Regions from separate parts of the Homo sapiens genome. Here regions 1 and 3 are each linked to region 2. The links are contacts of gene promoters, found by promoter capture Hi-C in blood cells and fetal thymus (Javierre and others, 2016). All regions are on one chromosome and are shown on one strand. Each heading gives the region's core, a stretch centred on a gene start or on the middle of the fragment in contact. The rest is flanking DNA. Distances are from core to core; before and after follow the strand shown.

What was found. The method cuts DNA at HindIII sites, captures the fragments that hold promoters and counts their contacts. A CHiCAGO score of 5 or more calls a contact.
Region 1: a contact is called between a fragment that was not itself captured here and the fragment with the promoter of LRRC27 in region 2, in 1 of 17 cell types (M0 macrophages). The highest score is 6.5, in M0 macrophages.
Region 3: a fragment that was not itself captured here is called in contact with the fragment with the promoter of LRRC27 in region 2 in 1 of 17 cell types (total CD4 T cells); the score reaches 5.1 in total CD4 T cells.

Annotation. Positions count from the first base shown.
Region 1 is chr10:132,667,883-132,670,733 of GRCh38, reverse strand. The region is part of intron 4 of INPP5A (inositol polyphosphate-5-phosphatase A); the gene reads right to left. Among named protein-coding and RNA genes, the nearest start is that of NKX6-2, 120 kb to the left of the region's middle. The HindIII fragment of the contact is 927 bases long and covers 1,076-2,002 here.
Region 2 is chr10:132,330,806-132,333,622 of GRCh38, reverse strand. It overlaps LRRC27 (leucine rich repeat containing 27), which reads right to left and starts at 1,430. Exons shown (of 11, transcript NM_030626.3): 1 at 1,367-1,430; 2 at 1-146. The coding sequence starts at 98. It also overlaps a transcript of STK32C not described here. RefSeq lists a silencer at 1,609-1,728 and an enhancer at 1,613-2,147. The HindIII fragment of the contact is 6,954 bases long and covers 1-2,817 here.
Region 3 is chr10:132,618,189-132,620,888 of GRCh38, reverse strand. All of the region lies in intron 2 of INPP5A (inositol polyphosphate-5-phosphatase A), which reads right to left. Among named protein-coding and RNA genes, the nearest start is that of INPP5A, 82 kb to the right of the region's middle. The HindIII fragment of the contact is 1,626 bases long and covers 580-2,205 here.

The DNA.
Region 1 (2,851 bases), core at 290-2,789, 340 kb before region 2:
AGGGGTGACCCGGCACAAAGGGAGACTGGGTGTTCTGGGGAGAAGACAGGCTCCCCACTGGGACCTCCCAGAAGGCCACAGGGATGCGCGCAGGCAGGGTGAAGACTTAGCTGTGCTGTGGGCAGCAGAGGGGCAGGGGACAGGTGTGCCCCAACCACTCTCCCCCCAGCAAGGAGGGGCTGACAGTGTCCTCCTGCTTCTGGGCCAGGGCTGTGCTGAGAAGCAAGCCAGCCAGGGGCTGGGGACTACAGCAGAGGAGAGGCTGAAGATGGGGGCTGTGGGGTGGTGTCAGGGGGTGTGGGGGTCAGGTGCGGGTTCTGGGAGTGCGCACTCAGAGGATGTAGGGTCAGGGGGTGTGAGGTCGGGGGGGTGGGGTCAGGTGCAGGTTCTGGGAGTGCACAGAGGATGTAGGGTCTGGGGTGTGGGGTCAGGTGTGGGTTCTGGGAGTATGCAGAGGATGTGGGGTCAGGGGTGTGGGGTCAGGGGGTGTGGGGTCAGGGGGTGTAGGGTCAGGGGGTGTGGGGTCGGGGGGGTGGGGTCAGGGGGTGTGGGGTCAGGTGCAGGTTCTGGGAGTGCGCAGTCAGAGGGTGTAGGGTCTTGGGGGTGGAGGCTGAGGGTGTGGGTTTCAGGACGTGGGGTTTAGGGATTGGAAGCTGAGGACATGGGGGCTGAGAACGTGTGCAGTGAGGGCATGGGGGCTGGGGGTGTGGGGTCAGTGGCTGCAGAGGGATTTTCTGCAAAGAGGTTGGTGACCCTGGGGACCCAAGAGAAGATAAGAGTTTGGACAAAAGAAAGACCTGAGAGGGCTAGAAGGGCTGTGCAGGGCTGCACCCTGAGGACAGAGAGGGAGCAGTCACCAGCGGGTCCTGGCTCCCTGGGGGCTCAGCAAGGCCACAGTGGGGACAGGGACACGGGAACAATGCCCTTCCAGAAACCCAGGTCCACGCTCACGCCAAAATCCCAATGGCATCTACCCACATCTCACTTGGAGCTGCACATCTAGAGTCCAGCACGAACCGCGCCCGCCCTCTCTGCCCATGGGGCACGCACAGGCAGGCCCCACATCCTCCAAGCTTGACCAAGTCACTGTCAGACTAAGGACACATGAATGGTGTCTGCAAGCACGTAAGAGAAGCAGAACCACTTTCAAGGACGCAGCTAAGCCAGGCTGAAATGTCACCGACGGTCCCCCAGGAGAACACGGGGCCTCCTCGAGCAGCTGTTTCTGCCCTGTCACTTGCCACTCCTCCACCACACCCCCAGCTCCCTCTCGTTCTGTGGTCCCGTGAGGACGTGCTACATAGAAAGCCTTGAGGTTAAGAATAGGAGCCTGCATTGTGCCCCTCAGAGTAGGCCACAGTGGGCACCAGGGAACCCGCCTCACAGGGAAGGCCTGGCCCGGCAACACCTGGCGCTCACGGGGCTACTTCCCAGCTTCACACAAGCTGGTGCTACTCACCGGCTGTTTGTTTGTTTATTTTGAGATGGAGTCTCACTCTGTCTCCAAGGCTGGAGTGCGGTGGCACGATGTCTGCTCACTGCAAGCTCCGCCTCCTGGGTTCACGCCATTCTCCTGCCTCAGCCTCCCGAGTAGCTGGGACTACAGGCGCCCACCACCACGCCTGGCTAATTTTTTGTATTTTTAGTAGAGACGGGGTTTCACCATGTTGGCAGAATGGTCTCTATCTCCTGACCTCGTGACCCACCCACCTCGGCCTCCCAAAATGCTGGGATTACAGGAGTGAGCCACCATGCCCGGCCTCACCGGCTGTTTCTTAACCTTCCTGTGTCTCCGGCACCCCAAAGATAAAGTGGGGAAATGATCCCCCAGAACAAAGCCTCACAAGCAGTACACGCTCAATAAACGCCAGCAGTGGTGGTCGTGCGATGGAGCTCGGCAGTTTTTAAAGAAAGCCACAGAAATGGACCAAACCCAGAGCACGGTCAACAGGGGCTGAAGCCCCCTGAGCTATTCAGAGAGGGGTGAAGTGGGCCGCAAGCTTTTAAATCCTACGGAAGAGAATAAAAACATCAGGAGGAATGATAAGCCCTTCTAATGCTCCCTGTGCAAATTCATGTTTAATTTGAGGAGAAATATCAACATTTTTTCATTTCCCTGATCATGCTTTAATTAAATCTCTAGCCCACTGTTTAAAATAAAGCCATTATGGATAGTGATCAAGAATTTCATCACTCCCTACTGAACTATAAAATCAATCACTTAACTTTTTATTATATAACCTCTGAAAAGTGAAACAGTTTGAGGTTACAGGATTTGAAGTGCTCTGATTTTCGCCAAAAGAAGTCCGTCAAATGTGCTTCTGAGAAACTCATGTTCTGCTTCATTTCCATATTTTTTCCATGGCAGCATCAATAAGTTACAGGGCGTCACTTTGCCCCCTAACCACCAACAGAAAGCCTCAACTGAAAGGAGGCCGAGGCCATCAGCCCATGGCAGGAACGTGAGGCTCTCGTGTCATTTCACCTAAGAAAGGATCAGTGACACCTGAGCCTGGGATCTGCCACTGGAATTTTCAAAAGTCAAGTGTGGGGCTGGGCTGCAGGAGCCCATTAGTCCCTCACCACCACACCAACCCTGCAAGGCCGGCAGACTCCAGTACACTCAAAAAACTGAATAACTTTGTTTAATGTTGCCTAGAAATAAGGAAAAATAACAAATACTTGTAAAAGTTACACTTGAAAGATCTCCACTCCAACTTATGTTCAATGTACTTAGCAAAAAGGTCAAAGCTCCGGAATTTGCTGGATAAATAAATGTTGGTGAGGCGGATGAATCACTGGAGAATTGGTGCATGGCGGCGAATGAATAACCTGCAAATGCCTCCCAAAC
Region 2 (2,817 bases), core at 181-2,680:
TTGGAGGGGGTGGCAGGCAAGCTCCTAGTCTGACCAGCACCCTCCTCCAGATCAGCAGCAGCCACAGAGGGAACTTCGTAGGAGCTGCTTCCCTCCATCCGTTCTCTTCCAGGGACAGCAGCTCATCCTCCTTGGTCTGGAGTCACCTGGAGACACGGGAAAGGGAAACGTAGAAGCAACTAATTATACCGAGGCAAAACAGAATAGCTGTGTGGCAGATCTACTGTAATGTAACTTGCTTTAAAAGCTATCATTTTTCCTAAGCAGTAGCAAAAATTTGACTTTTAAACATGTAAAAAAAAAAAAAAGGAATACAAAGAGGTTCAGATTAAAATTCTCTGCTCTCACTTTGTACAATGGAGTTCCAAGATTTAACTCCTGGAAAACGCAAAGGCGCACAATAGTAATGATCATTTTAGGGATGTAAACAGATCGGAACATTTCAAAGCCTGTAAATCAACTGCAACGCTTCCATGAAATGACTAGGGGCGGGTGGAAATTTGCACTGTTTCTTACCTCTGGTGTGGTTCTGTGCCATTTGAACTATGTTTTTAGTTTCTTGAGGCCAGGAAGCCTGTCTTTTGTTTACCATTTTGACCCAGTGACCAGAACTAAGTCTGGCTTACACCCAGTTAAGCACCGGGGAAAAACCTGTTAAATTAATCTCGAATTTTCGTTGTCCAGCAACACTTTTACTCAGAAGTATTGTTCACCAAAATCTCATTCAGCGAGGCACACTTCCACTTGCAATTTCCAAACAATTTATTCGGCAATAAGAATCAACGTTGGAATGCATCAGTTCACCTAATTCAAGTCACTCAACAGCCCAATGATTGGCATATGAGGCGCAGATCAGTTAGGGAACTGTTCCAGGGGCGCAGTTAATTGGGGGGTAGAGGCGACACCGGGACCCAGCAGGGTTCAACCCCAGGCAGCCTGCATTCCATGGAAGCCCGCGGGCTTTTTCACGGTCAGTTCACTTGTTTTCTCCGAATCACGGAACTTAAAACAGAGGAGGGGAGGCTTCAAACCTCAGAACAGGGAAAGTATCTTAAAACCAGAAGTGAAACAACAGCCTGGACTCACACAGGGCCCAGGCAGCGCAGGCTCCGTGGGGTTTCCGAGGCTGCCTTCAAGGGATCCCCACGCACGCCCACCCCCGCTCCCTGCCTCGATTTCCCCATCCGGGCGAGGCTGAGTTGGGTCCGACGCTCTGGGCCTCACATTCCAGGCCTCAGAAGGGCAGCCTTTGCGGTCAGCATCGCGGCTGGAGCTAGGCGACAGGGCACGACGGGCCGAGGCACCACCTTCCTGCCGCCGCCCGCCTCGAGGGCTCAGCGAGCTGGCCGTACCCGCCCCGTCTCACCTGCCGCGTCCCCGCCCACTGAAGCGCTGGCGAGCCCCGCCGCTGAGAGCAGCAGCCCGACAATGGAGGCCACCCAGCCAACGCGGTCGCCATGGAGACGCCGGTACGGAATCCCGCAGGCGCCACGCTGAGCGCGAGTGTGTCTGTGATGCGCCTGCGCGAGGGGTGTGGTGCGCCTGCGCGCGGGGGTGTGCGTGTTGTGGGGGTTTGTGCCTGCGTGCGGGGGCGGGGTGTGGGTGCCCCTGCGCGGCAGGGGGTCGGGTGTGGTGCGCCTGCCCGGGAGGGGGCGGGGTGTGGTGCGCCTGCGCTGGGGCGGGGGGTTGCGCTTGCGGTGGGGGGGTTGTGGTGCGCCTGCGCGGGGGTGGCAGGGGGTGGTGCGCCTGCGCACGCACGCGGCCAACGGTAGCATCCGTTTTTCCGCGCCCGCGGCCTTGAAGGGGTGGTGGTCGACGGGCAAGTAGAGACCGCGAGGGTCTGGAGGGGCGACCGGCCTGGCACAGAGGGGAAGGAAGAGAGCGGGATGCTAAGTGCCGTCTGGGGAGCCGGAGGGCCCGGGGCGGGCGGGGCTGCTCGAGGACAGCCGAGCAGAAAAGAATTGCTGCTGAGGCACCACCTTTGGAGCGGTCCTCGCTGCCTGTCCTTCCCGCTGGGCTCACTCCCCGCGTCTCTCCTGGGGCTTCCTGGAGCCACTTCCCACAGGAGCTGCTTGTCCCCAAATCTTGCCTCAGGACTTGCTGCCAGGGGAACGCAGACTCAGAGCGTCCTCTTTGGAGAAGTAAGGCTGCCTCTGGACGGAGGAGTGAGGGGGGCGAGGAAACGCAGTGAGTGTCCTGAGGAAGGGTTTTGAGAATTTGGAAGAAGATGAAATGACACCGGGCGGGAGGGGAGGTGCTCGCGTGGTCCTGTGGAACCCTGGAGTCCCGTGCACCTTCATTCCAGGATCCAACTGATAATGAAAAGTAGCACCCTCTGTCCCACCCAGAAACACTCTGGAAACCCGGACAGTTTAGCTGGAGTCTGCCATGATTTCACTTTTTTTTTTTTTTTTTTTTTTTTGAGGTGGAGTCTTGCTTTGTCTCCCAGGCTGGAGTGCAGTAGCGCGATCTCGGCCCACTGCGACCTCCGCCTCCCAGGTTCAAGCAATTCTCCTGCCTCAGCCTCCCCAGTAGCTGGGACTACAGGCGCGCGCCACCACGTCCAGCTAATTTTTGTATTTTTAGTAGAGACGGGGTTTCATCATGTTGGCCAGGCTGGTCTCGATCTCCTGACCTCATGATCCGCCCCCCTCGGCCTCCCAAAGTGCTGGGATTACAGGCATGAGCCACCGTGCCCGGCCTGATTCCACTTTTTAAAGGAAACGACATAATTATGTGGAGAAACGACTATCCACTTTGAGGGGATTTACGTTTTATTTTTGTGAAGAGATCACAGTAAGAAATGTTTTTTAGGCC
Region 3 (2,700 bases), core at 143-2,642, 290 kb before region 2:
TGAATTTTTCTAATGTTCATATCAAAGAATAATTCAAAAAGTATCATCTGTGACTCAGTCTTCTTCTAAAGGCTCTGTAGAATTTCTGTTGTTTCTTGTTTAAATATAGAATTCACCAGGGAAGCCATCTGGGCTGGGAGGGTTTTTGTGGAAAGGTAATGGGCAAATTTTTAATTGAATAGATATAGGACTATTGAGTTCATTATTTCTTCTTGATACTTTTGTTTTTCAAAAAAAAAAGTTTCTTTCATATAAAATTTCAAGTTTATTGGCATAAATTATATTAATATTCCCATAACCCATGATATGCTTTAGCAAAGAACTTGGCTGCATTCTGTTTATGCTCTAGAGATCAATGGAAATTTGAAGCAAAGAGTGATGATTTAGGGTATCTGATGGAAGAAATTTCTAAGCAGCAAAGTGCTCAAGAAAGATGTGGCCTGGCTGCTTCTAACAGCCTACACTCAGATGTGGGAGCAAAGAAATGACTTACAGTTGGAACTTACATTTAAAAGGGAAGCAGAGCACAAAAGTTTGAAAACTTTGCAGCCTGGCCACATAGCAAAGAAAGAAAAAGCTTTCTCAGGAAAGAAAATCAAAAAGGCTGTAAAGCAACCACTTGCTAGAGATATTTGCATAACTAAAAAGGAGTCGAGTGCCAACAGACGAGACAATGACAAAAAGGCCTTGAAGGCATTTCAGAGACCTTTGCAGCAGCTCCTCCTGTCACAGGTCCTGAGGCCTAGGAGGAAAGAATGGTTTCATGGGTCAGGCCCAGGACCCTGCTGTCCTGTGCAGCTTCAGGTCAGTGCTCCCCACATCTAGGTTGTTCCAGCTCCAGCCTCAGCTCAAAGGGCCCCAGACACAGCCCAGGCTGCCATTTTGAAAAATGCAGGTGTTAAGCCTGTAGGTGCACAGAATGCAAGAGTGAAGAATGCTGGCAAAGTGCAGTGGCTCACACCTGTAATCCCAGCACCTGAGGTGGGTGAATCACTTGAGGTCAGGAGTTCAAGACAAGCCTGGCCAATATGGTGAAACCCTGTCTCTACTAAAAATACAAAAATTAGCCAGGTGTGGTGGTACATGACTGTAATCCCAGCTACTCAGGAGGCTGAGGCAGGAGAATCATTTGAACCTGGGAGACTGAAGTTGCAGTGAGCTGAGATCATGCCATTGCACTCCAGCCTGGGTAACAGGATGTATAAGAAAACCCAGGTGCCCAGGCAAAAGCCTGCTGCAGGGGTGCAGCCCTCACAGAACCTCTATAGGGGCAGTGTCAAGGGAAAATGTGGGGTTAAAGCTCCCACAGAGAGTCCCCAGCAGTGCACTGCATAGTGGATCTGTGAGCAGGGGGCCACCATCCTCCAGATCCCAAAATGGTATATCCACTGGCAGCTTGTACCCTGTGCCTGGAAAAGCCACAGGCATTCAACTCCAACCCATGAGAGCAGTCCTGGGGGCTGAACCCTGCAAAGCCACAGGGGCAGAGCTGGTCAAGGCCATAGAAGCCCACCCCTTGAGCCTGTGTGCCCTGAGTGTGGGACATAGACTCTGAGGAGATGATTTTGGAGCTTTAAGATTTAATAGCCGCCCTACTGGGTTTCAAACTCGCCTGGGGGCTATAGCCCATTTCTTTTGGCTTATTTCTCCCTTTTGAAGCAGAAATGTTTACCCAATACCTATATCCCCATTGTATCTTGGGAGAAAATAACTTGTTTTTGATTTTGCAGGTTCATAGGTGGAAAGGACATGCCTTGTCTCAGAGAAGTCATCAGACATGGGACTTCTGAGGTGAGTCAAGACTTTGGGGGGACTATTGAGAAGGGATGATTGTATTTTGAAATGTGAGAAGAACATGAGATCTGGGAGGGGCTGGGGCAGAATGATACAGTTTGTATATTTGTCCCCGGCCAAATCTCATGTTGAAATGTGTCCCCAGTGTTAGAGGAGGAACCTGGTGGGAGGTGTTTGGATCATGGGGGCAGATGCCTCCTGAATGGACTGGGCCATCCCCTTGGTGATAAGTGAGTTCTTACTCTTGAGTTCACATGAGGTCTGGTCATTTGAAGGTGTGTGCACTTCATCCCCACTCGCTCTCTCTTGCTCTGGCTTTCACTGTGTGGCATGGCTACTCCCCCTTTGCCTTCTGCCTGACTGAAAATTCCATGAGGCCTCCAAGGGCTGAGCAGGTGCCAGCACTAAGCTTCCTGCACATCCTGCGAACCGTGAGCGAATTAAACCTCTTTCCCTCATAAATTACCCAGTCTCGGGTATTTCTTTACAGCAAAGCAAGAATGGCCTAATACACTCTTCTTCCATGTTAGCTGGAAACAGACACTGCCTATCACATCATTCTTAAAATTACCATCAGGAAAAACTGTGAAAGACTTTAAAATGAGCAATAATGAGAGTGCCTCCATTTAGCTCACCTATTTGGGTTATCTCTACCTTTAGTTGTCTCTGAGCTATGTTGCAACTCTGTGAGTTTAAAAGCTGATGATGATGGAAATGATTCTTGACCACAGAAATGCACAATGTCCAGCAGATGTGATGGATCATGACCCTGTGGACAGTGCCAGCCTTGCATCCGTGAAGCACACTCATGTCAGTACTGCTGATGGGAGAAGCTATTTGCCTACATTCTGGATTCTTCCCTGAACCAGTTCTACATCTTACTGGGTCTCTCCCTGATAAATAAAC